6 separate regions of the Homo sapiens genome follow, and all the other regions are linked to region 1. The links are contacts of gene promoters, found by promoter capture Hi-C in blood cells and fetal thymus (Javierre and others, 2016). All regions are on one chromosome and are shown on one strand. Each heading gives the region's core, a stretch centred on a gene start or on the middle of the fragment in contact. The rest is flanking DNA. Distances are from core to core; before and after follow the strand shown. Region 1 holds the start of TBC1D15 (TBC1 domain family member 15). Region 2 overlaps LOC124902964 (a long non-coding RNA gene). Region 3 has its middle 59 kb from the start of ZFC3H1. Region 4 overlaps ZFC3H1 (zinc finger C3H1-type containing). Region 5 overlaps ZFC3H1 (zinc finger C3H1-type containing). Region 6 overlaps TMEM19 (transmembrane protein 19).

Evidence for each region. Contacts are between HindIII fragments. The CHiCAGO score rates a contact against its expected background, and 5 or more counts as called.
Region 2: a fragment that was not itself captured here is called in contact with the fragment with the promoter of TBC1D15 in region 1 in 1 of 17 cell types (activated CD4 T cells); the score reaches 5.0 in activated CD4 T cells.
Region 3: a fragment that was not itself captured here is called in contact with the fragment with the promoter of TBC1D15 in region 1 in 5 of 17 cell types (activated CD4 T cells, non-activated CD4 T cells, naive CD4 T cells and 2 more); the score reaches 11.7 in activated CD4 T cells.
Region 4: a contact is called between a fragment that was not itself captured here and the fragment with the promoter of TBC1D15 in region 1, in 8 of 17 cell types (non-activated CD4 T cells, activated CD4 T cells, naive CD4 T cells and 5 more). The highest score is 9.7, in non-activated CD4 T cells.
Region 5: a contact is called between a fragment that was not itself captured here and the fragment with the promoter of TBC1D15 in region 1, in 11 of 17 cell types (naive CD8 T cells, non-activated CD4 T cells, total CD4 T cells and 8 more). The highest score is 15.5, in naive CD8 T cells.
Region 6: a contact is called between a fragment that was not itself captured here and the fragment with the promoter of TBC1D15 in region 1, in 1 of 17 cell types (neutrophils). The highest score is 5.7, in neutrophils.

The regions. Positions count from the first base shown.
Region 1 is chr12:71,837,371-71,841,982 of GRCh38, reverse strand. It overlaps TBC1D15 (TBC1 domain family member 15), which reads right to left and starts at 2,224. Exons shown (of 17, transcript NM_001146213.3): 1 at 2,172-2,224. The coding sequence starts at 2,201. The HindIII fragment of the contact is 6,842 bases long and covers 1-3,709 here.
Region 2 is chr12:71,585,790-71,590,401 of GRCh38, reverse strand. LOC124902964 (a long non-coding RNA gene) reads left to right here. Exons shown (of 2, transcript XR_007063366.1): 2 at 524-2,772. LGR5 (leucine rich repeat containing G protein-coupled receptor 5) reads right to left here. Exons shown (of 18, transcript NM_003667.4): 18 at 4,092-4,612. Among named protein-coding and RNA genes, the nearest start is that of ZFC3H1, 76 kb to the left of the region's middle. RefSeq lists a silencer at 547-747. The HindIII fragment of the contact is 7,405 bases long and covers 1-4,612 here.
Region 3 is chr12:71,602,220-71,606,831 of GRCh38, reverse strand. No RefSeq gene overlaps it. Among named protein-coding and RNA genes, the nearest start is that of ZFC3H1, 59 kb to the left of the region's middle. The HindIII fragment of the contact is 2,748 bases long and covers 1,010-3,757 here.
Region 4 is chr12:71,619,047-71,623,658 of GRCh38, reverse strand. ZFC3H1 (zinc finger C3H1-type containing) reads left to right here. Exons shown (of 35, transcript NM_144982.5): 24 at 62-299; 25 at 3,344-3,449; 26 at 3,535-3,733; 27 at 4,250-4,344. Among named protein-coding and RNA genes, the nearest start is that of ZFC3H1, 42 kb to the left of the region's middle. The HindIII fragment of the contact is 1,737 bases long and covers 1,621-3,357 here.
Region 5 is chr12:71,647,052-71,651,663 of GRCh38, reverse strand. It overlaps ZFC3H1 (zinc finger C3H1-type containing), which reads left to right. Exons shown (of 35, transcript NM_144982.5): 3 at 3,851-3,915. Among named protein-coding and RNA genes, the nearest start is that of ZFC3H1, 14 kb to the left of the region's middle. The HindIII fragment of the contact is 4,603 bases long and covers 1-4,237 here.
Region 6 is chr12:71,703,643-71,708,254 of GRCh38, reverse strand. It overlaps TMEM19 (transmembrane protein 19), which reads right to left. Exons shown (of 6, transcript NM_018279.4): 6 at 3,208-4,612. Among named protein-coding and RNA genes, the nearest start is that of TMEM19, 20 kb to the right of the region's middle. RefSeq lists a silencer at 313-518. The HindIII fragment of the contact is 3,747 bases long and covers 700-4,446 here.

The DNA.
Region 1 (4,612 bases), core at 975-3,474:
TGAATAAATAAACACACACACACATTTTCTCCCCATCCCCTTTCCTAAAGAAAAAAGATTAGGAAGTAGGGAAGCATAAAGGTATCATGTCTTTTTATGTTACATTAACCAGCTTTCATTATTATTATTATTATGCTGACGATAAAAAAGTGAAGAGTTTTCATTTGCTTTTTAAATCAAGAGATTATCAGGTTTGCGCATTAGAAAAATAACTCCAGTGGTGGTGTAGAGAAGATTAAGGGCAGAGACTGTAGAAAAGGAGTAAAATCAGCCAAGAAATCAAGAATAGAAGCAGACTAAAAGCCTGAACTATGCGCTGATAGTAAAGAAGATGCAGTAAATTTAAGAAACCTCTTAAGGTAAAACTGGTAGGACATGGTTATTGATTAGAGAGTGTTATAGGAATGAATGCCTCCAAGTATGTTTAACATGCAACCAGGTGAAAGATGATGCCATTAAACCAGATCTGAACTTACTGAGAGAAGAACAAGTGGGTTTTGTTGGTCATGATAGTATTACTTGGGAGAGGAGCAGCTTTTGGCATGGAAAACTAGTTTCAGTGGAGTGATGGCAATAGATGTGAATTTGCAGTGAATGAGAATAAATGAGGTTATGAAGCAGAATTACTAAATATAAGTCTCACTTTAAGAAGTCAGACTATGAAAGGTAGTGGCTGCAAAGAGTGAAAAATGTTTTTCATTTCACAACTCTGCTTCATTGCCTCAAGGATTCTTTCAAAATCAATCCAAACCTGAAAGAGGGAGATGTTTAAACGGAAGGGATCCCCTCTTGAAAAGTCCCAGCCTGGATCAGTTTAGATGGAAAATCAAACAGGATAATCTTCAAATACGCAGTAAGTCAAGCAGTATATCAGCATCCACCCTGAATATAAAAAGAAAAAAACTGACAAGACAACCAAGGAGCACGAATAATCCAAAAAAGGATGCCCACCTATCCTTTAAAAGAGCCAGTAGGTACAAGTGTGTAATTTTATGTTTTTTTAAAAAAAAATTTATATAACCCTAACAACTCCAATACAAGAAATAATGATTGGCATCTCCTCCATTCTACAGATAAAGAACGCGAAAAGACAAAAGTCACAATTGCCCAATTTTCCAAGGTCATACTTCAGATTAACAGCAAAACCAAGCCCATATTTGTCATTCAGCCGCCTAGTCTAATACTCCAAACACCAAACCACAAACGCTGTCAAATAATTCAAAATGGGGTAGGGAAAGCAACAGGGAGACATGAGTGAAACTCAAGGAACAGAGGACGCTATCTGCAATGAGTAAACAACCATTAGTGTTCGATGAGTCACTTCAGTTGATTCCAGCTGTTTATGAAATACTCCTGCACTGGGAAATACTATCGGTGGCATATCATAAAGCTGATAGCCCTAACTATGCATAAGATGTGCCCTCGGAACGCGAATAGGCACTATTCGACGAAATCTCCGCACGTAATTCTAGTTTCCAACGAAATTAGGCGTGTCACTGACCACCTCCGTAAACCAGCATGACCAATACTCCTACTGAAATGCCTAGGAAATAAATATTTGGACGCCTTCCTAGACAAGCACAGGATGGTGTAAATCTCCATTTCTCTCAGGAAACACGTCCTGCTGCTCACAACCACCAACCAACTCAGCAGCTTGGTAAAAACAGACCCAATACACTCGTTTCTTCTAAGCGCACAGCTAGCTGCCTAGCATCTATTCAGCTCCTCCCGAAGGAAGCATAAACATCTTCACCAAACTGTAGCAAAGAAGACAGAGGCAAGTCGGGTTAACGCTTCAAAGAGAGAAAAGACGCTGGAGTCAGAAGAGTAGACATAAAGAACTAGAGTCAAGAAACAGTGAATCGGGGGAAAAAAGGAACTAGAGAGCCACCTGTCCCTTAGTAAAGGTAATACGAATAAAAGCCTCTCTGCTCTGGGGCAGAAGAGCGCCGAGGCCTAGCTGGCCTTGGAGCAGTAGCCGGCTCTATAACTCCGCGGCTGAACTGGCATTCTCGGGAAACCAGCTGGTACCACCCAGTCTTCTCCTACAGACGCCACGGGTTGTCCGGACACAGAAAGTCCCTCGTGTCCCTCCCCCAACCAGCTGCCAGGGAGCAAAAGCATCCCCGTCCCAGAGAAAAGCCGAGGTCTTCCTGGAGGCCGTTACCTACCTTCCCGCTCACAACACCCGCCGCCGCCATGTTTCCTGCGCGTGCCTGGTAATGACGTAGCAGAACCTCACGTGTCTCTCGGACATACAACAACATCCGGCAAAACTAGAATAACATCCGGGCGGGAAAAGGGCGGGGAGTGGCGGGAAGGGAGTGGAGGAAAGGAGCCGGGCGGAAAAAAGCCGCCTGACGCGTGCGTGCTGAACTGGGCTCAGAGACGGCTGGGGTGGAGTCTCAGGCCTAACGCTACGCTTGTGCTTGCCCCACGTCCTCCCCAAGGAAGACTGCTAAAATAATGTGTACCTTACTTGTATTGGAGTTTGTCGAGACTCTGAAGCTAGCGCAGGCCACGCCAGTTTGGTGAGATGAAACGAATACCATACTGGAAGCCAGCAAGATTTGTCCTGGTTTTTTGTTGTTGTTGTAGAAAAGGAGTCTCGCTCTGTCGCTCAGGCTGGAGTGCAGTGGCGCGATCTCGGCTCATTGCAGCCTCCGCCACTCGGTTCAAGCGATTCTCAAGCCTCAGCCTCCCGGGTAGCTGGGATTACAGGCGCGCGTCAAACGCCCAGCTAATTTTTAAATTTTTATTAGAGACGAGATTTCGCCAATGTTGCCCAGGCTGGTCTCGAACTCCTGACTTCAGGTGATCCGTCCGCTTCAGCCTTTGCCCAGAGAGCTGGGATTACAGGCTTGAGCCACCGCGCCCAGCCCATTAGCCTGGTTTTGTGGCAGTAGGCAAATCACCAGTGCACTCGAAACCTCAGTTTCTTATAGTAAAATCAAGATAGTGGCGTTGCGGTGAAGATCCAAGAAAGAGCAGCACTAACATGGAGATATCCCAGGCACTATACATGGAGACTTTTCCCCTCTGTATATGAGGTTTCTCTATTTGTCTGGTCACTGCCACTCACACATGACCTCCAGCAAGGTATTTCGATAGGAACTGTGATAATACCACGCCCTCATAGCTGCAGAGCCCAAGGCACATAGTTTATAGCACCTACACATTACTTATTAGCTCTGTGACTTAAAGCAGGTTTCTAAATTTATCAGAGCTTCAGGATGTAAACTGGGAATTACTCCTGCATGGAGTGGTTGTAGGGATTTCATACGACAATACATGTGTGGTAAAATGATTTGTAAAGATACTAAGGTAAGAATTTTACTTGTTCTCAGTGCTGTAAAAGAATGCAGAGAATGATTATATACTACCCCCTTGATAACTCTGGCACAGATCTGGGATTTCCCTAGCTCCGGGGCAGAATAAAAAGTCCCTTTCACCAAAAACACTTGTGTCCATTGAGGTACTTCCGTCTTCACACAGTGGAGAGGGGTTAGAGGCTTTTGAGTTTGGTTGAGGTAGGTGGCAACTAGCTGAACGACAGAAAAGGAGAGTTGCCGGTTATGTGACTACCAGGAACCTAATAGGTGAGGAAAGTGGTGGAACCTTAGGTGGGAATGAATGCGTAGCATATTAGGGAGATTGCGTGCTAGGTATCTGAGATTCCAACCATGACCAAGACCCTTATGCCCAAGCTTGGCAGGGAATCAAGAAAGCAGCTCACCTACAAGGGATGAATGAGGTGGGAAAATGAGAATATTAGCAGTAATCAGCATTGAGTGAAGACTAGAGGGCCTTTTCCAAATGTACTGGACTGAGACTAAGACCCCTAGAACCTTCATATAATCTTGGGTGTGGAGTGGAAAATCCTACTGATGACCCAAATTACATTTTCCACCAGCTCAGAGCATTGGGATGTGGTTAGAGAAAAATTTTAATGTGACATCACATTTCTTACACCCTGTGTTTTAGAGAAAATTTGAAGCCCTTAGCACAGTGCCAGGAATAAAAGGCTCAATAAATGTAGTTATTACTTATATTTTAAAATATAAGTTTGAGAACTACAGGCTTCTCATTGAAAAGCATCATTGGCATCTCAGGTTCATCTGCTACTTCTTGACCTTCTTAAATTTCATCCTACAAGTGTGCCTTAAATAATGGCGCTACCCATGGGCTGGCCTTGGGCCTCTCTTCCTTTTTCTCCAAACACTATTCCTGGGCCGTTATCCTCATATTCTGGCATCAAAATCTCCTATGTACTGATGACTCCCAAATATTCCCAGCCCAAGTCTCTCTTTCCTAAACTCTAGTCCCTGTGTCCACTGCCACTGGACTTCTGACTTGAGTGAGCTAATCATACATCAAAAAAGTATAAGCCTTTACTACTCAAAGTGTATGTGTACAGACCAGCAGCACCAGCATCAGTTGAAAGCTTGTTAGAAATGCAGAATCTAACTGGGCACGGTGGCTCATGCGTGTAATCCCAGCACTTTGGGAGGCCAAGGCAAGCGGATTACTTGAGGCCAGCAGTTCAAGACCAGCCTGGCCAACATGGTAAAACCCTGTCTCTTCTAAAAATACAAAAATTAGCCTGGCGTGT
Region 2 (4,612 bases), core at 899-3,398, 250 kb after region 1:
AAAAGAGGCTAACTAACCACAGTCATTAAATATTTCACCTCAGTAATCTAATATTTACAGCCTTGGATCAAAAATGATATGAAGGAAGAAGGAAGGCAGGCAGCAAATAGAGTGACAGGTAGACATCTGAGGACTGTCAGCAGCTAAAGAGACAATCTGATGTGTGATGTCTTAACTTTGCCATCTATTGCTCTTTGGTGATGGTATTTCTGTGATTTGGGACTGTGGCTCTGGCTTACTTGACTTTTATCTGTATTTCTCACTACGTGGGGAGAGAGAGCAGTAGAAAGAACAGACATCAAACCTGCTAGAACCTTAAAGAGTTGATATTGTTTCATCAGTAGTTTGAGGGCAAAGATCAGAGTCAGTCAGGAGCTGAAAAAATGAAGGGGCTTTTCTAGTGTTCCACAGCAGGTCTGTAACAAGTGGGCTTAAATCTCACGTCTTTATCCTTCACCATGCTGAATGGACTGAGAAATGCCCACCCACTTGTGACACAGAACTATATACCCTCTCGTTTCAGGATGTTGATATAAGGTCTCATTGCCTTCCTCAGCAATCTTCTGAATCTGGCATTCCTTCTGAGAAGACTAACAAGCATTCATCCAAAATGTTCGTCATTGGAAAGTTAGCTGTAATTTGATCTAACTTCTCACTCAATATGATAGTTTTTTTTTGGTATACAAGAGACCTGATGGAATCTTTCTTAGGTAAGCCAAATCTGTCTCTCTGAATCGTTCACCAGTTGGTTCTTGTTCTCTTAAAGAGTAAGTCAGCTTACTCTATGACTGTTTTTCAGTGCTATTAAGCGAAACTTGGGTTTTAGTCCTAGTTCCTCATCTGTGACCTTCGCAAGTCACTTATCCTTCTGACTCTATATTTTCATTGGCAAAATGACAAGGCCTGCTTTGCTCATTCCATAAGGCTGTCAAAAGAGGGGGAAACACAGGATCCATTAATTAAATACGTACTATTCAATGCTTTTCAGGTAGTGTGATGGTAACTTTATATACACTGAGTTATTAGTATTTCCAATCCTATGAGGCTGGTGGTGTGATGCCCATTTTTTTGAGGAGAAATTTGAGGCTGAAAAAAATTAAATACCTTGTCCAAGGATTACACAGATAGTAACAGAAGTAGGATTTGAACCCAGGTCTGTCTGGCAGTTGAGCTTAATCATTTTACTATTTGGCCTACTATAGGCTCGTACTTAAGAAAGCACTTAGTAAATTTCAATTATTCAAATATTTTAAATATTTTCCTTTAGCCTGCTTTTCTCCAGGTGACACATTCTCCATTTTTTAGACTATTATTTGATAGGATATCATTTCCCTATTCCACTCACTGTTTCATTCACTATTCTCATGGAGTAGCATGTTTTCAACATTCCCATAAAGTACTGTCTCTAGAGTGGAAAGTCATGTCCACAATGAGTATGAACCTGTATTCCATAATGCTTCTCCAGCCTATCACATGCATTTTCTGCCCGTTTCTGAAGTTTTATCATCCTACCCAATAGGCTTCAGGAACTTGTGTATGAGATGAACGAGTCAGTGTAGAATCTGAGTTCAACATCTTTAGAAATGTTCATAAGGAGGACATCGAAATGGGGATATGGCTACACAGCCCCTCCCCACTTCACTTGCAAGGAAAAGTGACCATAACCTAATTGTAGTTAAGGGTCTCTGTGGCCTGAGAGAGAAAATAGTTAGTGTTTAGTGGCCCATAGGAAGATAGTCTCTTTTATCTGCATAGTGGAACTGTAAAATCAAATCTCCAGTACTGAAGAGCATGAATGGAACCAGTAGGGTCACAGCAATCCCATCTATTTATCTAGGACTTCTTTCTCATCAGATGGGCCTCTGAACTAAATGTGATAAGATTAACAAAAGAAGCAGGACATTGTTACTTTTTCATATGTTAGAGTTTTTCTGGTTCTAAATGAAGAAGGTGTTGCTAATTTTATTTCCTTTTACTGCTTTATTGTTATATTTTTAGCCAAAACTAAATGAGTAGATGTTTTTTATTTCATATAAGAATGATTTTCTCTTCTGTAACAGTTGAAAAAAAATGATGTGCAGTAACAGCCACCTAATATATTTTTCTATTAAAATGTCCCTGAAAATAGTTATAGGTGACATATGAAGAGAGGGACTAGAAATGATGAGTTTTTTGATGTAACTGGTTAAATTCAAAAGCAAAGGTAGCTCCATTGTGAGCATAAGGTCTTAGCCTAAAAGGTGGCTTTCCAGAGAGGCCTTTCCGGAGCTCCATTTCTAAAGCACCACACTAATTATTCCCAATAGACTATTTAAAATAGCTTCATTTCCTTCATTTATGTTTCTATCGGATATTTCCATGTTTATATTTGTTTACTGTCTATCTCCCCTCCGCTGGAATGCGAATTCCAGACCTTGTTTTGTTATCCGCAGTGCATAGAATACAGCACATAATGGTGCAGAATACTTGTTGAATGAATGAACCTGTTTTTGGAAACAAAATTGTTACTGCCTTACTTTAAGCTAGTTCACAGTTTATGGTTTTTACAAATTTGTTCCATGGTTTGTTCTTTACTGTTGTTCAATGTCTGAACAGTACATCTTTCCCCTTCTCACTGTAGATTTATTTATTTGTGGATGTAATTCAAGTTCTTTCTGATTATGCTATATTAGAGTGGAGAACATTTATCAGATGGCAGTGTTTTGTGTAAGGTGTATTATAACTAGTGTTTTGTCAATAAAATAATAAAGCCTGTGGATTTATCTAAAGAAATAAGTTGGAGTGAATTTAAGTGTCTTTTTTTTTTTTAATTACATTACTGACTTGTGTTTTCTTGAGCGGGAGACAAAGGGGCTGCCAGGACTTGTTCCTGACTTTGGGCAAGTATATTGAAAAGAAAGAATGAGATGCATTCCTCTAGAGGCGACTTTTATATCTGCTGCCTGGGTTAAGAGGTGGGAGAGTAAGAGGAGTGAGCTCTTGTTTCAGCTGAAGATAAGCCAAGCCAAGCATGGACTGCACAAAAGAGGATCCCATTTGATGCCTGTTAATTAGGTTTGGGCATGTGGTTAAGTCTGATGGGTAGGTGGAAAACTCAGTGCCAGGTGCCCTGTGGGTGCTCTGTAAACGTGTTAATTTTAGCAATAATGCTGTGCCTCCTACTAGTACTTGATGGTTTCATTTTGCAATCCATGCAAGGAGAGCAGGAATCACCACTGGAGCTGGTAGGGTCTGGCACAGGTGTCTAGAAAAATAATTTCATTTCTCATGTTTTGGGGGATGGGGACCGAAGGGGAACAGTGTGTTTCTTTGTGCCCTGGGAATTGCATGTCCTCATGTTTTGGCCTTGACATAATCATCAAATGAATTATTTAACAAGTACATGAGTTTTTAAACTCATGTTTAAACTCATGTCCATGTTAAATAATTTAAGGTTGATTTGTTATTCATATATTTCTTTCTAATTGTGAGGATTTTTCTTATATTGCAAAAGAAGTTTGAGACCAATAAAAGTTCTAGCTTATAAAATCCAAACTATCATAACCTTCACAAAAGTCAGGACAAAATGGCTTATCAATCATAAACAATTCAGGAGTTGGTAATGATATTTTGATTCGTTTTGTGAAAGATTGCTTTTTTTATGATAAGTGCAATATATTTAGAGTATTAAGTACAAATATTAATACTTAAATAGCAGGCCGGGCGCGGTGGCTCACGCCTGTAATCCCAGCACTTTGGGAGGCCGAGGCGGGCGGATCACGAGGTCAGGAGATCGAGACCATCCCGGCTAAAACGGTGAAACCCCGTCTCTACTAAAAATACAAAAAATTAGCCGGGCGTAGTGGCAGGCGCCTGTAGTCCCAGCTACTTGGGAGGCTGAGGCAGGAGAATGGCGTGAACCCGGGAGGCGGAGCTTGCAGTGAGCCGAGATCCCGCCACTGCACTCCAGCCTGGGCGACAGAGCGAGACTCCGTCTCAAAAAAAAAAAAAAAAAAAATACTTAAATAGCAAAGGTACTTATACTCCAAAACTTAAAAACATTTAGGAGACTATATATCTGCCTGTGGGCTCAATAAATAGACTTGAAAATATTTTGTTTCATAGTCACACATTTTATTACAAATTTATTTTTTACCCAATAGAAAAGCAAATTTGGAATCTATTTACAAGTACTATATATTTACATATATACAGTTAATGAATTTAAAGAAAATGGGCAGAGAAACACAATATAAATCAAAGAATATGCCACTGTACAAGGTTTATTATCATTATCATGGTCCTTAATGTTACTGAACCTTTACTATAGTAATAAATACAGTTCTATATTTACACATCTTATAAAACATCTCATAAATGTATTTTTTCAAATCCAAGTTAAAACATCTGATCAAAATAAACATGCTTATATAAAAATAAATCTACCTAACAGCCATTTGGTTTGGATGTATTGAAGCTAATATAGGATAATAGAAGGTAAGAATTAATACTTTGACTTTTCTTATTTAATAACTTGCTTCTTAAAATACCTAACACAGTATTAATATGGAATAAGCAGAGAAGTAATGTTCCTAACATCAAGTGGGTTATCCAGAGAGAACACAGCTAAAAC
Region 3 (4,612 bases), core at 1,134-3,633, 240 kb after region 1:
GAAGTGAATCATTGGGCTAAGGGATAAAATGGAGGAAAAGTTGAGCTCAATAATATTTTCAAAAATTGTGTCACTTCTATCTGTACATTTGGAATCCTGTGCATTTTTAAAAAACGTTCTGAAAAGCTTTAACTTTCCAAATTCATTCACAACTGAAAATTCATTAAACATGGTAACAGATGTGTAAAACTACAGAGCAGCCTAACTGTTCAGAAGAGAGTGCCTTTGGGGGCACCCTGTGCTTCAAAATCCACATGAGCATGACTGACTAGGAGTAATCCTATTAGAAGACCCAGTTTAAATGCCTTGATATCCAAAGTCTGATTGTAATTGCAGCTGCTGCTACTAGCTTTTCCTTTTTTCCCTCTCTCTCTCTAACTTCTTGGGTAATGCATGAATAAAATGTTACTTTCAACATTTATTATCTACAACTTGCAGAGCACTATTTCAATTCCAGTCTACATGGTTTTCCATTAATTTTTTTTAACCTTTCCTATGGTGTTGATCCATTATATTTTAAGAGTCATGGTTATTTTTCTGTTTACACAGAACTACCCAAAGATGGCCCAAAGTGGGCCAGGGGCTGTGGCTCACACCTGTAATCCCAGCACTTTGGGAGGCCGAGGCGGGTGGATCATGAGGTCAGGAGATCGAGACCATCCTGGCTAACACGGTGAAACCCCATCTCTACTAAAAATACAAAAAATTAGCTGGGCGTGGTGGTGGGCGCCTCTAGTCCCAGCTGCTCAGGAGGCTGAGGCAGGAGAATGGCGTGAACCCGGGAGGGGGACCTTGCAGTGAGCTGAGATAGTGCCACTGCACTCCAGCCTGGGTGACAGAGCGAGACTCCGTCTCAAAAACAAAGATGGCCCAAAGTGTCTTCACTGCTTTAAAGTGATTTTTCTATTTGACCCAATACCAGAGATGTTTGCAACCAATGTAAAGCTAATTAAAGCCAGGAATAAAATGACTCTGTTGAGTAACAACAATAACAAAAAAGTTTTAAGCTTAGAGGAATGTGTGCTTCCTAGTTTGATCAAGAATACAGAGGTTCCAGAATATCTGAAGCCAATATGACTCTTAAGTGGTGGGTGCTGTCATGGATCTGAATTTTCCCTCCAGTTTAAGAACAAAACAATACAAAACAGTGAATAGAATGTTAAGAATATGTGAGTTAATTGTATTTCAATTACCATAGAATAACATGACGATTTTATGCAAGACTAATAAATTTTGAAGACTATCCAATCTATAAACAAATATGACTTTTCAAGGGCCATCTTCTATGAATTAAGTAAAATTTTAAATAAAACATGAAAACTATTTGCATAGCCTTTCTTAAAAAGTATATACATTTGCCTTTTGGGAATCTGAAAGCCTCAAGACTGATTATCAAGTCTGCTGAAATCAAAGGTAGGTTTATAATGTTTGGTTGATCAAGCAGCTTAAATCTTGGAAAAGTTCTTACCTAGCGAAAGTAAGCCATATGAAAGAGAATGATAGCCAACGGTGTAAAGGAGCTGAATCAATTAGGAAGAGTGATAGACTGGTGAGCTGTTTGCATTAGTGGACATAATCAGGGCATCTGCTGCCAAGGCCAAAACAAACACTTAACTTGGCACATCATACAGTGAAATTTATGAGATTGCCAGGAGATAGATTTGGCATTTCATACTGGTTGAAATGGAGCTACAAAGAAATAGTTTCAGGAAATTGAGAAGTGTGAACCAATGTGAGTGATGAAAAAGCGTGTATTTAAAAGATCTGGGTATTAGATTCAGCTCTACCATAAACTAGCTATGTAATTGTGACAGGCCATTTCACTGCCCCCGTCTCTTTTTCTGCATCAAAATGGGGAAATATGTGTACTTACCTCAGGGGTGTTGAGATCAAATAATAGGAATTACCCTTAAAAAAAAAAAAAAGTATTTTGAGTTTGGAATCGTGTTCCAAAATTTTGAAAGCAGAGATGCTACAAAATAATAGTTTGCTTCCTCTGGACCTAATTTCTTTTCTTTTTTTTTGTTTTTGTTTTTTTGTTTTGAGACAGGGTCTCTTACCCAGGTTGGAGTGCAATGGTGCAGTCATTGCTCACTGCAGCCCCGACCTCCTGGGCTCAAGTGATCCTCCCACCTCAGCCTCATGAGTAGCTGGGATCACAGGCACACAGTATCGTGCTTGGCTTTTTTTTTTTTTTTTGTAGAGACAGGGTTTCACTATATTGGCTAGGCTGGTCTTGAACTCCTGACCTCAAGCAGTCTACCTGCGTAGGCCTCCCAAAGTATTGGGATTACAGATGTGAGGCACTATGCCCAGCCCTGGACAGAATTTCATTGCTGTCACTTGATGAAGAGCATATAACTCTACCAATGCTCAAGCATGAATTAGTTGCTGTTTGTAAGAGAGACAACAGAAAATTGTAGTCTAGGCCAGGTACCGTGGCTCAGGCCTGTAATACCTGCACTTTGGGAGGCCAAGACAGGAGGATTGCTTGAGAGCAGCCTGGGCAACATAGCGAGACCATGTCATTATTAAAAAAAAAAAAAAAAAGTTGCTGTCTAAATTCAGTGGCTCATTCCTGGCATTACCAAAATAACAGATAAAAATATCAGTTAAGAGATGGTCTTGAGACAGGCGTGGTGGCTCATGCCTATAATCCTAGGACTTTGGGAGGCCAAGTTAGGAGGATCTCAAGTTTAAGAGTTTGAGACCATCCTGGGCAATATGGAGAGACCTCATCTCTTTAAAAACATGGTCTTTAGGTTTTAAAGTCAAAAGGAATCAAAATTTAGTCTGCTTCTGTTTTCAGTTCTGAGGATTCTCAGCATGTTGGCTGGATTCCCTTTGTGGTGAAATAGAGGATAAAAACTACCCCTTAGTTCAGTACTCAGAATTTAAGTGTAGAGAGTATCTTGATAATCCAAGCCACTTTCCACACTTTTTTGGAGTTGCCTATAACAGGACATGAGAATATTGACCAATTAAGTTTACTTATTTTGTAGGCAGCAGTCATAAAATGACCTAACCAGGCAAGAGGACTTGCATAGAGTTTGCATATAAGATAATCCTCCAGGAACATACTTTTAAGAGAAAAGAATTGCTGGATTTTTTAAACCACAATTTTATCACAGTTAGACCAAATTTGGCTGAAGCTGTGGCCCAGTGGTGAAAAATCACAGAATGCAGAACAAGGGGTCCATTGGTAGTGTTCACTTGGTGATTAATGCTGTTCTAAATAAAAGTAATATCTAATTTGGGGGTGGGGAGGAAAGGATGTGAGTCAAAATAGCCAGTTGTAAAATCCAAGGCTTGCAATTCAGTGTGAATGACCCTTTCTATATTAGGATTGACAGATGAAAATAGCAGTGGCTTAAAAGTTTAAGTAGGGTGGACCAGGGCTGACTGTATGATACTCCGCTGTAACAGAGACCTAGACACCTATCTGTTTGTCCTGTGTGACCTCCTTTCCCAAAAGGGGTGCTACCTATGGTTGTGTTAAGTCATGTCCTGTACAAGGATACATGGCCAAAAGACTGAAATAGCAGGGGATGAAATTAATCCCATGATCAACTCATCAAGCACCCGAAGGCACTCGTTGAGTCGGCATGGAGGAAGGGTGGCCTTTTTAAAATTCACACAAAGGGACCATTAAGAATCCAAGTTCTATGGGGAGGGTTGGTGTTTTTCTAAATTGCACAACAGCACCACGTGGGCTGGTGGTCCTGATGATTCTAGATGGCTGCTCCACACCCAAGCTTTTTTGTTCACATTGTATTTAGCAGGAAGGAAAAATGAAGGGAAGCATGACCCGCCTCGCTTCTTAGGAGGACTCAGAAGCTGAACATGCCACATTTGCTTTTGTCCGATTGTTCAGAACATAGACACATGGCCACTGCAGGGAGGCTGGGAAATGTAGTCTTTATTTCGAGTAGCTATGTGGACTACATAAATTCAAGTATGAAAGGGAATACGTATCTGAGGAACAACTAAATATCTGCCACACTACCATCAAGTGGAGTAAACAGACTATAAAGTGAAGTTAGTGGCTTCAACCTAGCTTGTTTAGAGGTCTAAAAAAGTTTTAAATAGTGAACCTCTAAAATCTCTTCTAGTTCTCTAATTCTACTCTATAATCTTGAGTTTGGAATAGGGAAGCTGAAAGCACATTTCCCAGACCTAGCTGGTCTGGAAACTTAATAAATGGTCATTTAATAACAACTAACACTTTGTTGAGATGTTAGTCTGTCACACCATTGTAAGTGCTCAAGGAATATTTATTTAAATTTTCACAACAACCCTATGAGATATTGCTGTAATCTTCATTTTACAAATGTAAACTGAGTCATGAGAAATTAACTTAGCCGGGTCACAAAGATAGTAAATGACAAACCCAGGAAGTTGACTTCCAAGTGCATGCCCTTAATTTGCAACCTAAAAATCCCCTAGAGTAAAATTGGTCCACTGAGAAGCAATCCTGAGAACTTTGAGGGAATTATTGAGAAAGAGGCGCTTTCTTTTTGTTACACAGCTACACTAAGTTAGGGGAATGTAAGCCTGGAACAGTGGGGTAGTTGCCTTGACACAGCACTGTTAAGAGCCCACTGGAAGTGAG
Region 4 (4,612 bases), core at 1,240-3,739, 220 kb after region 1:
TATGTTAATCTGGTACTGACATCTCTAATTTTTTTATCAAAAAATTTTAAATTTTGCCTAGAATGCATTGAAATCTGCTAATGATGGAATAGTAGCTGAATACCTTAAAACCAGTGATCGATGTTTGGCATGGTTGGCCTACATACATCTTATTGAATTCAACATTCTCCCTTCAAAATTTTATGATCCATCTAATGATAATCCTTCAAGAATTGTTAACACTGAATCATTTGTAATGCCATGGCAAGCTGTTCAAGATGTAAAGACTAATCCTGACATGTTGTTAGCAGTTTTTGAAGGTAAGTATAAAGTTTATAAATTGTAATATCAACTGTTATAACATCAGTGTTTAGAACATTAACTACCCATTATTGTGATTCTCTGTAATTAAGTGGAACAAATTTATATCTCTATATTGCAAGTTTTAGTTTCACAATTTATTAGGCAAATTAAGTCTTGAATCAGAGAAGATGGACACTGGCATCTTTGAAAACCAATAACTGCACGATATTACATTGTTTATCTTTCTGATTGTGGCAAAGGATATCTGTTAAATGCGTAGAGAAAATAAATTATGTAAGTTTGATGAATTGATTAAATCAGAGAACTAGGTACTTTTTTTTTTTTTTAGCAGTCCATTAAGGTGGAAGTTTAAAGATTTCTATCTTTTCAACCAATTAATATTTTCTCCATCAGTCAGTGAGTTTGGTTGCTTCTCTATATTAAATGATACGACTATTGTGGAACACATTACAAGATATAAAGCCTCTTCCTGAAGGAAGTATATAGCCTAGTCAGAAGATAAAATCTATACATTTGTCATAATTATTAAACATACAAGGCCATATAACTGTGTGTTAGTATATAGTCTAAATTGTATGCTACGTAAAAGAGACTAGGGCCGGGCACAGTGGCTCACGCCTGTAATCCCAGCCAAGGAGGCCAAGGTGCGCGGATTGCCTGAGGTCAGGAGTTCGAGACCAGTCTGGCCAACATGATGAATCCCTATCTCTACTAAAAATACAAAATTTAGCCGGGCGTGGTGATTCACGCCTGTATTCCCAGCTACTCGGGAGGCTGAGGCATGAGAATCGCTTGAGCCCAGGAGGCGAAGGTTACAGTGAGCTGAGATCATGCCATTGTACTTCAGCCTGGATAACAGAGTGAGACTCAGTCTCTAAAAAAAAGAAAAAAAAAAGAGACTAGGATCTGTGATTTATAGAATTATTTGATACAGGCCATGAACCCAAAGGGAAGAGATTATTATAGATTGGCATGATCAAGGAAGTCTTCATAGAAGAATGGGGACCTGGAGCTAGATGTCGAAGCATGGCTATCAGTATGACAAAGTGGGTCTCATCAGAGATGGGGTGGACCCTTGTCTTATTTATCATTTTACTCCTAAGGGCCTGTAAGGATGTCTGGCAAATTATTAAGTGCTTATTAAATACCCTGTGAAGGAAGGAGAGAAAAGAAAGGACATTACTGTTAGGGGAGTTAAATAAACAAAAAGCAACAGGTAGAAGGGAATTTATGCAATGGATTTGAAGTGAGATTGGGAAAAGGGATAGGTCTTATCAGACTGAGAATTCTGTGCTGGACAATAGTAGTGATTAAGCTTGATAAGTAGAATGATACTTGATTGTCAAGAATCTTGAAAATGTGGTAGACTGGATGGCAGTAGAGGTTCTTTAAGAAAGAGAATGTGCTTGAAGAGAAATTATACCAATGGTAGGAAAACCAACCAGAAGCTGATGGCAGTAACTGAAGTACAAGAAAAGTATTCTGGTAAGGAGGATATTAGAGATATTTTAAGTTATCACATGGAAATACATGGGGGTGAGGCGGGGGGGTTGAAGATTAAATGTCAGGGAAGAGGAGGAGGAGTAAACAAAGATTTCAGGGTTTTGAGACTGGGAAAAGGAAAGTGTCATTAATAGAAAACTGGTAAGTTGGGAAGACTGATTTTGATGGTAGGAGTAGTATTTGTGATTGTAATTGGTCATTCAAGTGGAAATGATTGTTGGCGGTAGGAAATAAGGAAGTGGACCTTGGCCGTGCGTGGTGCCTCACATCTGTAATCCCAGCACTTGATAATCTGCTGAGGCATGTGGATCACTTGAGGTCAGGAGTTTGAGACCAGCCTGGCCAACGTGGTGAAACCCCGTCTCTACTAAAAATACAAAAACTAGTCGGGCATGGTGGTGTGTGCCTGTAATCCCAACTACTCGGGAGGCTGAGGCAGGATAATTGCCTGAACCCAGGAGGCAGAGGTTGCAGTGAGCCGAGGTCGTGCCACTGCACTCCAGCCTGGGCAACAGAGCAAGACTCCATTTCAAAAAAAAAAAAAGAAAAGGAAGTGGACCTTAATTGGACAATTATCAATACATAAGTGGATTTGAGTGTTATTCACATAGAAGTTACTGTGTTACAGGGTGCTTTACAGTTTTTATAATGTGCTTTTGAAGTAAATTATGCAGTAGTTGAGGCTATGAGATATTTTTTCTGAGGAAATGAGATTTAAGAGCATAACAGTAAGGAGTAAAAGGGAGAGTAGAGTCATTAAAATGGGACTAAGAGGAAATTTAAACAATCTATTGGAAGCAGAGGCAAGAAGAAATTAAAAAGAAGGGAAAGAACACTGTCAAATGTTAAATAAAATGAAGGTAGAGGTGAGCTTTTATGTTTGGTTAGATATGAGTCCTTATGAATGAACTTCAAGAAGACAGTTTCAAAGTGATTGCATTCACTTTTAAACTCCACAGATCTGGGAAGCTGTGGTACCATTGGGTAAGGAGGAAATGGTCACAGCTGGGCAAAGTAAAACATTGTACCGTTTAATAAGTGGCAAAAAGATCAAGAAAGAACTCTTTACAAGGGGAAAAGTGTGTTTTGATGGAGTAAGGAAAGGATCTAGTTTGGAGAGACATTCAAATGGCTGTGGGGCAGCAGAGCAAGACCTCCTTTGCAGTGGTCAGGGAAAGATGAAAAGATAATTTATTCTGTAATTTTTTTTTTGTTGAGATGGATTTTAAAGAATTTAGGATAATTGCAGAGATACTTGTTTAAATGAAAACACTGATAGATGCAAAAGCTCATATGGGATGGCTTTATTCTTACCAGGAAAGTTGAGGGTAAGGAATTGAATTTTAGGATTTTGGAGATTACTTGAATTACTTCCTTTGAGTAAAAGCCAGCTCAGTAAAGGTGAATAAGATGATGGATGGGTAATCAAAGGGAGGGGTCATCTTTTCCCATTGGTCTCTCAGAGTTGAAGTAACACAGTCAAATATTTCATTTTTATGATTGACGTGATTCATGTTGTTGTGATGTTTTTGGGTAGATGCAGTGAAAGCTTGCACAGATGAGAGCCTTGCTGTTGAGGAAAGAATAGAGGCCTGCCTTCCACTTTACACAAACATGATTGCTCTGCACCAACTCCTGGAGAGGTACAACTTAATTGCCAAGCAGCTAACCTTATATTAAAAAGTGATCTTTTCATGTCTTTAGCCTTTTTTTTTCTTTTTTGTTAAGGTATGAGGCTGCAATGGAGCTTTGTAAATCTTTATTGGAATCATGTCCTATTAACTGCCAGTTGCTGGAAGCTCTTGTTGCATTATATTTGCAAACAAATCAGCATGACAAAGCCAGAGCAGTGTGGCTTACTGCATTTGAAAAAAATCCTCAGAATGCAGAGGTTTTTTATCATATGTGCAAATTCTTCATCTTACAGGTAAAAATGATGCATAATTCTTAAATATGATGCTTTTATGTTTCAAATTTTGCTATTGGCCTCACCAGGAAGTGTTTCCTGGTCCTTTTACCCTTTGCAAGCAGTGTTAGGTGTTCCTTCTCTCTTTGCCATAGCACTTAGTACAGTGCTTTGTAATTTTATTCCTAGCTGCTTTAATATATACTATACTAAACTTCTTGAAGGCAAGGAACATGTTTACTCATATTTGCAGCCCAACGCCTACCATGGTGCTAGATGGCTAATACATAATTGGTGGATGAAATATGAGCCTGTGGTAATACTAGAAGTTAAGCTGTTTAATCATTAGTTGAACTTAATTCAGAGAGTAAAATATAAAAGTTTTCTGAGTATGTCTCAAACTTATCCCCTCCGCCCCTTACCCACTCAAGAAACTTAATCTAATGAGTACTTTTTTAAGGCTTTTTTTCTCCCTCGTGACATTTTAATTAAACATTGTAAGCCTGATATATATCCCCCTCCCTCTTTTTAAAATAGAATCGAGGCGATAATCTTCTTCCATTTTTGCGGAAATTTATTGCATCCTTCTTTAAACCGGGGTTTGAGAAGTATAATAACTTGGATCTGTTTCGGTAAGTTGTAGAATTCTTAGTTTGTAGAGGAATGAGAGAGAGCACAGTTCAGTAGAAAGATTACAGTTTTTTTCTTATATGATGACATTTTAGACTGACTTTTTAGTACTTGAATACCCACTTAACAGAATACTTGAAACAGAATAAATAGAACAATAAAAATGGAGGCAAGATGGAAAATTCTTTAACATTCTGTGGATTAAACACACTGTACAAAGTAAGGCATATACTAACACCATAGTAACTCATTCTTTTACTTTATCGTTAT
Region 5 (4,612 bases), core at 687-3,186, 190 kb after region 1:
ACTTTACTTCTCATTGCCTTATTAGCCCAATACAGTTTGCTTTTCTACCCCCATCACAATACTGAAACTACTCATGGTAGTTTTCTGTGACCTAATTGCAAATTTTAGTGGATGTTTTTTATTTCATTCTTCCATTTATTCAAAAATTAGTTGAGCACTTTATTCCAGGCTCTTGGAAATAAATTGGTGAACAAAATAGTCACTTATGTTTTCATGGGCTTACATTTTAGAAGGCAAAACAGTAAACATGATGTGTAAATTAACTGTTATGAAAGAGAAAAAGTATAGCAGGGTAGGTAGGAAAGGGTTATTGAGGATACAGGTTGCAGCACTAATAGGGTGGTCAGCATGGTGTCTATTTGAAGGTGAGATTTAAAGAAAGACTTTGAAGACAGTAAAGGAATAGCCAAATGGATATCTGGTGGAAGAGGCTCCTATGCAAAAGGAATAACTAGAGCAGTGATTTTCAAAGTGTGGTTCCTGGGGACTGCGTTATCTGGGAACTTGACAGAACACAAATTCTCAGTCTCTACCTTAGATCTATTGAACTGGGAGCTCTGCAAATGGGGCCTAGCAATCTGTATTTAACCAGCCCTTCTGTTGATTCTGCTACATGCTGAAGTTTGGGCATCGCTGAACTAGAGAAATGACCATAATACAGAAAGATGCCTGACATGTTTGGGGAATAACAAGGAGTCCTGTGCTAATACAGGAGAGTGAGGGGAATGAATAATGGGAGAGAAGGGATTAGAGATGGCAGGAGGGGGCAGATCTTATAGACAGAGCCTTGTAAGAACTTTGTTTTTTTATTCCTAATGAAATGGGGAGCTCTTACAGGGTTTTGAGCAAAGGACTGACATAATCTGTTTTATATTTTTAAGGCATCACTCTGGCTGCATTGCTGAGAATATTCTATTGGGGGTAGACATCTCTACTATATTCAGTGATATGTTTCTTCCCTTGAAATTTTGGGATTTCTGCAATGGATTTTAAAAATAACTTTCTGATTTTTGTTTTCTGTCTTTTGTTTGTTTTAAATAATTACTTTTCCTGTGTAATTTCTTAATTCGTCATGTCCTCAGTGTCCCATTTTCTAGGGATATTCTCATTATTATGGTTTTAACTACTACCTGTGTGCTGGTGACTTTGGCTCACATTAGACTTTCAGTTGGTAATATTTTAAATACTGTGTGACAAGAACAGTGTTCATTTTGGAGGTTTTGAGTAAAACTTGAGATAATTTTATTGTACAGACCTATGACAGTGGTAGAACAATGTCTAGCTACCCATTTGATCAGTTTAAACCTGCATTTATAATCTTTGTGTAAAGTTATATTTATTGTCTGAAATTTGTATTTATTGAATTTATTGTATTTATTAATTTTTTTTTGAGACGGACTCGCTCTGTTGCCCAGGCTGGAGTGCAGTGGTGTGATCTCAGCTCACTGCAAGCTCCACCTCCCAGGTTCACACCATTCTCCTGACTCTCACTGTGTTGCCCAGGCTGGAGTGCAGTGGCGTGATCTCGGCTCACGGCAGGCTCCACCTCCCAGGTTCACACCATTATTCTGCCTTGGCCTCCCGAGTAGCTGGGACTATAGGTGCCTGCCACCACGCCTGGCTAATTTTTTGTATTTTTGGTAGAGACAGGGTTTCACCATGTTAGCCAGGATGGTCTCGATCTCCTGACCTCGTGATCCACCCGCCTTGGCCTCCCAAAGTGCTGGGATTACAGGCATGAGCCACCACACCCAGCCTATTGTATTTATTTTTAAGGTAGCAATGTAGTCATAAGGTACCTGCTATGTTAATAGATACTTGCCTCTATGCTACGTTAAAGGGAGGTGCTGCCATTTTTTATAGACAAGTGAGATCCTAATCAACCAGTAGATTTCTCATGACTTAATGAAACTCATAAGTTTCTCATGTAGGAGAATAATTTAGTGTTTAATGTTTCCCTGTTTATTTTTGTATAATAGTTATTACTATTCTGTTGTTTTTAAAAGCGTGATCATTTTTTCTACAGTGGGACATATGCATTTCCCAAAATTACCACACTGCAAAATTATGCAATAAAAACAATAGGGTGTGTGGAGAAAATGGGGTTAGAGGAACAACACTCAAAAACTTTGTCCGTGGCATATAAAAAAAAGATAGGAATAAATGAAAAATGATAGCACAGCTTTGCATGTGAAATGGAGAAAAAAAGTGTGAAATATTAAAGTAAACATGTCAGCATTCCATAAAATAGACCTGAAGTACACCTGTGGAAGTGGAATATTTGCTACTTATGAGTTATTATGAAGTAAAACAAGGAGTGTTACCTGAAATCAGACAGTAAATTGTAATACCAGATGTGGATGGCTGTGGCTTATAACACACGCAATGAACTTGGGTATTTGATAGATGTTTGAAGTATATGTTGTTTGTGTATTCCTACATGGCTCAGATCACTTGGGTGCAGTTTTCTGCATTCTTAGTGTTTCTCTGAGACAAATCACACATAAGTAAATATAAATTTGTGTTATGCTCAAATTCTTTTCTTTTCTTTTCTTTTTTTTTTTTTTTTTTTGAGACAAGAGTCTTGCTCTGTTACCCAGGATGGAGTACAGTGGTACAATCTCAGCTCACTGCAACCTCCACCTCCCGGGTCCAAGCGATTCTCCTGCCTCAGCCTTCCGAGTAGCTGGGACTACAGGCGTGCACCACCATGCCTGGCTAATTTTTTGTATTTTCAGTAGAGACAGAGTTTTGCCATGTTGCCCAGGCTGGTCTTGAACTCCTGACCTCAGGTGATCCACCCGCCTCGGCCTCCCAAAGCACTGGGATTGCAGGCATAAGCCACTGTGCCTGGCTGCTCGAATTATTTTCTAATGTATCAGTCATGTTGCAACAAATTCACATTTATAGACTAAGCCTTTCAACAGAACTCATTTGTCTTGAAATTTGGTCATTGCCTTCTATTTACATTGATTTAGATGCTAGATTAGTCATTTATTTATTGAATAAGTCACGTATTCTTTGGTTCACTTGAGCAGTCAAATTAGGATGTTTGGAACATTGACAGGTGTGGTGTTATGGTAAAAACACCAGACTTAAAATTAAGATCTAGTTTAAATCCTAGCTTTGCAATTTCAGTTTTGTCATCTTAAGGAAAGATTTCTGAGTTTTTAACATAATCTGTTTTAGCTACAAAAGTATCTCAACAGGATTGTAGATATTCTGTAACTTTATCATGTGATGTTTAAAGCTGTTGTAGATTAGGTAATATATAAATGTAAGATTTTGTACATTATTTCATCAGTCATCTGGGCCCAAGGCTAGATATCTGGAAAAAATGTATGGATGGACTTAATTTTATTGATACTTAAGCTGCCTCTACTGATGCTTTTCTAGGTAAATGACCAATTCTCTAATGCACAAATCCAATACAGTCTGTAAACATTGCATTCATTCCAATTTAGAGGACTGGATTAATTTAGTCATCATTATATTCTATCAGTGTGGATAATCCACTTGGTAATTAAGTGTTGCTGCTTGTTTCTATGCTTTATAAATTCTCTTCTCATTTGAAGTGACTATTTCTAGTTCAGAAGTCATTTTATTAAAAGTGTGGCTTTATTTTAATATTTTGAATCATTTTGCCTTATAACTTTGAGGAATGAGGCTGATAAGAGTTTGTTCAGATTTTCATTCTCTTTAATGGTATTTCCTTTTGGTTGAGAGATTGAGAAAATGAGACCCTTTAATGATCTCTTTTAAAATAATTACCAGATATTATATAGGATTATTTTATTTTAGATTGTGGCTATCTTTTGGATTATTCAAAAGATATTATTTTATTTTAAAGGATTACAAGATAAAGAACAAAATTTAACAAGAAGAATTAGTACCTCAGATATTCTGTCTGAAAAGGTAAGATACTGCTTTGTGAGACTATCATCTCTGTAAGACCCATTTTTGCATTGCTTTATTTTGTTCTTTTGTAAGGGAAGTCTATCTTACTTTCACTTATTTTCTTTCATCATTCCTATAACTCCATTTGGACATAAGCCTTAAAGAAATTCTGGATCGACATCTTGCAGTCTCTTTTCCCTGGGTTCTGCAAATTATGTTTAATTAAAGTGTTATATATATTCATACGGGATCTTTTTTTTAATCATTTGTTTTTTGAAACCTTTAATTTTGATCCAGATATTTTCTCCATTTTTTGTGTGTTATCCTGTGTGGGTAAGCTTTTGGAGTAAGGTAGACCTTCACCTGGTGTCAAATTCTACCTCCACTTCTTGTTAACTGAGTGACTTTGTATAAACTATTTAGCCTTTGCTTGCTTCTATATTCTTTTCTACAAACTGAACTTAATGTCTTCTGTTATCTGGGTTGTTGTGAGGTTTCAGTAGAATGAAACACAGAAGCCTCAAGCACTGTGTTTGACGTATAACAGGCACTCAATAACCCAAGCCTTTTCAATTTGTTGAATTAGAGATCTGAAATATCTGTAGTTTTTTTCTTTTGAGATTTCAGTTTGTTTTTTTGCATAAATTGAAATGATTTAAATAGTCTAGGAGCTTTAGGAAAAAGATGGCCCTGAATTTAGAAATGATAATATAAC
Region 6 (4,612 bases), core at 1,324-3,823, 130 kb after region 1:
AAAGTGAAGGTGATACAAACAGGAAGCAGGGAAATACTAGGTAGAAAAGGGTGTGGTCCCTGGTGAGGGCTCCACCCTCAAGCTTGGACCAGAGGCCTTAAATGAGAACTTCACATCCCTGTTTTCCCACCCAAATGTTGCCTTTTCCAAAACCACCCTGGCCTGTCCCACCCCCTACCCTGTACCCATAAAACCCCCAAGCTCCACTGGCAGGAGAGCAGAGCGGAGCGGCAGAGGAGGAGAGAAGAGAAGCAGCTGGAGAAAAGCAGCTTGACTTCAGAGGGATGGCTTGATGGCAGGACTTCAGAGAAGAGTTTGGCCAGGCATGGCCAAACTCCAGGGGAAGATTATCTGCTCACTCCATCCCTCTCCAGCTCCCCTTCCCACTGAGAGCCACTTCCATCTCTCAATAAAATTATCCGCATACACCACCCTTCAACTGGTTCTTGTGACCTGATTCTTCCTGGATGACAGACAAGAACTTGAGTACCAAGAGGGAAGAGTATAAAAGGCTGTGACCCTCACCCTCCACTGAGGTGGTGAACACTTAGCCATCTGCGAACAGCAAACGCTAAAAGAGCACTGATTGTAACACATGCCCTCTGGGGCTCTGGGGGTCACAGACACCCCCTCCCGGAAGGCAGAGCTAAAAGAGCATTGTAACATGCTTGGACTCTGCCGCGAGGCCTGCTCAAAGCTTGATCCTACCAGAGAGGAGTGACCAGATGGTTCCAGCATTTGTTCGCCCCGGCTCCTGCACCTGCTCACCTGTGTGCTTCCGCTTCTTGAGGGGTTCAGAGCTTTGGGCTGAGTAAATGAGCTACCCCTTCACAAGTCCTGTGAAGAGGTCAAGGGAAATATCCCGTCTTAAAGGTATCAAAAAATTCCCTTGAGTATCCACTGTTACTTTTATGTTATACTAAAATTCCATTTTACTCTTTCAGTTCATTGTTAATAAAGTAGTTTATAAAGAGAAGAAATAAGATTTGAAATAATGAGGAGGGGGTGGAAGGGAAAGAAGGGTGATTCCCAGAGATTATTTTGTTTACTTTGAGCATGTTTTTGATTCATAGAAAAAACAAATTTGATTACAGACTTTAGAAAAAACCTAAAATTAGTTTTGTATGTGTATTTTTAATAGCATTAAATACATCTGTAATTATCTCAGATAACAAGAATATTTTGGTGTACATCCTTCTAATCTTTCTTCCTAGATTTTTATTTTATTTTATTTCTGAGATGGAGTCTTACTCTGTTGCCCAGACTGGAGTACAGTGGTGCAATCTCAACTCACTGCAACCTTTGCCTCCTGGGTTCAAGTGATTCTCGTGCCTCAGCCAGCCAACTGAGTAGCTGGGACTACAGGCATGTACCACTACACCCGGCTAATTTTTGTATTTTTTAGTAGAGAAGGGTTTCACCATGTTGGCCAGACTGGTCTCGAACTCTTGACCTCAAGTGATCTGCCTGCCCCGGACTTCCAAAGTGCTAGGATTACAGGCATGAGCCACCGTGCCCGGCCTTCTTCCTAGATTTTTCTAGGATGTAAGCACCTGACTTGAAGCAGCAAAAAGACAATACTAATTATAACAATTTCATTGAGTTTAAAATGTGTTAAAACACACTTAAACAAATTATGTACAAAATATTGCAAATTTATTTATTTTTATTTTTTAAAGATAGGGTCTCACTCTGCTGCCCAGATTGGAGTACAGGGGTACAATCATAGTTCACTGCTGCCTTGAACTCCTGGGCTTAAGCAATCCTCTTGCCTTAGCCTCCTGGGTAGCTGGGACTACAAGCACACACCACTACACCTGGTTAATTTTAAATTTTTTTGTAGTGATGGGGGTCTTACTATGTTGACCAGGCTGGTCTCAAACTACTGGCCTCATGCAATCCTCCTGCTTCAACCACCTAAAGTGCTGGGATTATAGGCATAAGCCACTGTGCCTGGCCCATATCCCAAATTTATATCAGTAATTAGCTTGGGGAAGATAGGAGGAGCTCAGAGTTGCTGAGGAGATAGTGGGGGCAAAAGAATACTGGGCGTGGTGGTGCACGCCTGTAGTCCCAGCTACTCAGGAAGCTGAGGCAGGGGAATCACTTGAACCCAGGAGGCGGAAGCTGCAGTGAGCCGAGGTTGTACCACTGCACTCCAGCCTGGCCACAGAGCGAGATTCCTTCTAAAAAAAATAAAAAAATTTTAGCTTTATGTCTAATGTTGTAATTTTTATTTATTTTTATTATTACTTTTTAAATTGAGACAGAGTTTCTGTCACCCAGGTTGGAGTGCAGTGGCGCAATTATGGCTCCCTGTAGCCTCCAACTCCCATGCTCAAACAATCCTCCCACCTCAGCTTCCTGAGTGGCTGGGACTACAGGTGTACACACCACATTTGGCTAATTTTTTATTTTTTGTAGAGACGGGGTCTTGCTGTGCTGCCCAGGCTGGTCTCAAACTCCTGGCCTTAGGTGATTCTCCCACCTTGGCTTCCCAAAGTGCTGGGATCATAAACATGAGCTACCACATCTGGCCTAATGTTGTAATTTTTAAAAAGGAATAGTCAGTGTATTATTTAATATTAATAAAAATTTAAAAATCCAAACTTAAAAAAAGAGTTGCCATATTTATAAAATAAATTTTTGGCTGGGTGTGGTGGCTTGCACCTGTAATCTCACACTTTGGAAGGCTGAGGTGAGAAGATCACTTGCGCTCAGGAGTTCAAACCCATTATGGACAACATAGGACATAGTCTGGATTCATCTCTGCAAAAAATTAAAATAAAAAAAAAAAGTAGCCGGGTGTAGTAGTGCAAGTCTGTAGTCCCAGCTACTTGGGGGCTGAGGCGGGAGGATGACTTGAGCTGAGGAAGTTGAAGCTGCAGTAAGCTATGACTGTGCCACCGCACTCCAGCCTGGGCAATAGGGTAAGACCCTGTCTCAAAAAAATAAAAAATAAATAAAAATAAATCTTGTCTAGATTCACGATTAGATCTACAAAAAAAAATTTTTTTTTTGAAGAGGGCAGTTATGATAAATGGAGAGTGAAGTCTTGTCAGAGAAAATAATTTCAAGCCTCGCCCTGCCACTCCTTCACTTCTTCAATAATTTCCTGGCTCATTAGTTTCAAAAGCATTAATATTGTTTTGCATGATTGAAAAATGCTGGAAACATTCCAGTTCTCAGAAATTCAGGTAGCCAAACTGGTTTTTCATTTTGTATTTTCCTCCAGGAATATGGTGCTGATTATCACCTTCCAGTCATTCTTAAAAGAAACAATGATTAGAGTCAAACAACTTAATTCAATGAATACATATTGAATGCTTAAGTATTTTTAAAATATCAAGAACCACTTGGAGTTATAAAAACAGATACTCCATAAAGGAGATTAAATAATTAAGCCACATAATTGTGTTTTCCTTTTTTTTTCAAGATGGAGTCTTGCTCTGTCACCCAGGCTGGAGTGCGGTGGCACGCTCTCTGCTTACTGAAACCTCTGCCTCCTGGGTTCAAGTGATTCTCACGCCTCAGCCTCCTGAATAGCTGGGACTACAGGCATGCGCCACCATGCCCGGCTAAGAGATGGGGTTTCACTGTGTTGGCCGGGCTGGTCTTGAACTCCTGACCTCGTGATCTGCCCGCCTCGGCCTCCCAAAGTGTTAGGATTACAGGCATAAGCCACCTCGTCCGGCTGTGTTTTCATTTTTAAAGCACACCACAATTCACCTGAGATCTGGTGGCTAGTATAGATCATTCTCATTGTGATAGCACTGGGAACATTACATAAAACTTCAGGAAGATCAGATGATTGGGCCCTAGTATACCCACTGTGCCTAACAGGCAGCAGCTGTTCATATCACAGGTATGCGGCAAAGTTTAAAACATCATTTCACATGCTTTTTCTCTATACTAGTCCTTTATCTAATTGGGGCGGGGCTGCTATTTCTGCAGGCAGCATCCTATGTGTACAGCAGCTAGAAACAGGAAAGATATATGTGAGAAACAGATAACTCAAGTAATGAGAAAAGCTAATAATAGAATGACCTGCTGTATCAATTCTTTGGTCTCTTGGTGGCTCCATTTAATGAGTTTTCAACATGCTACTCCTGCAAGTCTTCTTCAGGAGCTGCCCCAAGCCACATATATCTGCTCTCTTCTATCATGGAACAGTATGATAAGAAACAGTACACCTTTATGCTGCTAGGTAGGCAGTTTTATTATGCTGTTACATAGAGCTCTTTCCATGAAAAGTGATTTTAACATGAACTGCCCATTCTGCAAAGAGGAAAAATATGTTGAATTAGTTAAATATCCAATTCAAAAGATGTTACAGTAAAATACATGTAAGACTTAACAAAAAAAAAAAAAAAGGACAGAGACACAATTTCTTATCCTCAATTCTCATCTCCAAAAAGCTATGAAAACCAGTTTATTTACAAAGCTTGGTGACAAAACCTGACCAAACTTGATCTGAGGCTCTTTATGATCTTTAGTTATACTTAGTGGGGATGTTCATAAATCACCACAAAAATAGGAGTATATTTGATAATGAGCTGCCATCCCAGACTTTTTTTTAGTAGTTTTGAGTGAAATATTTTACACAGATCCT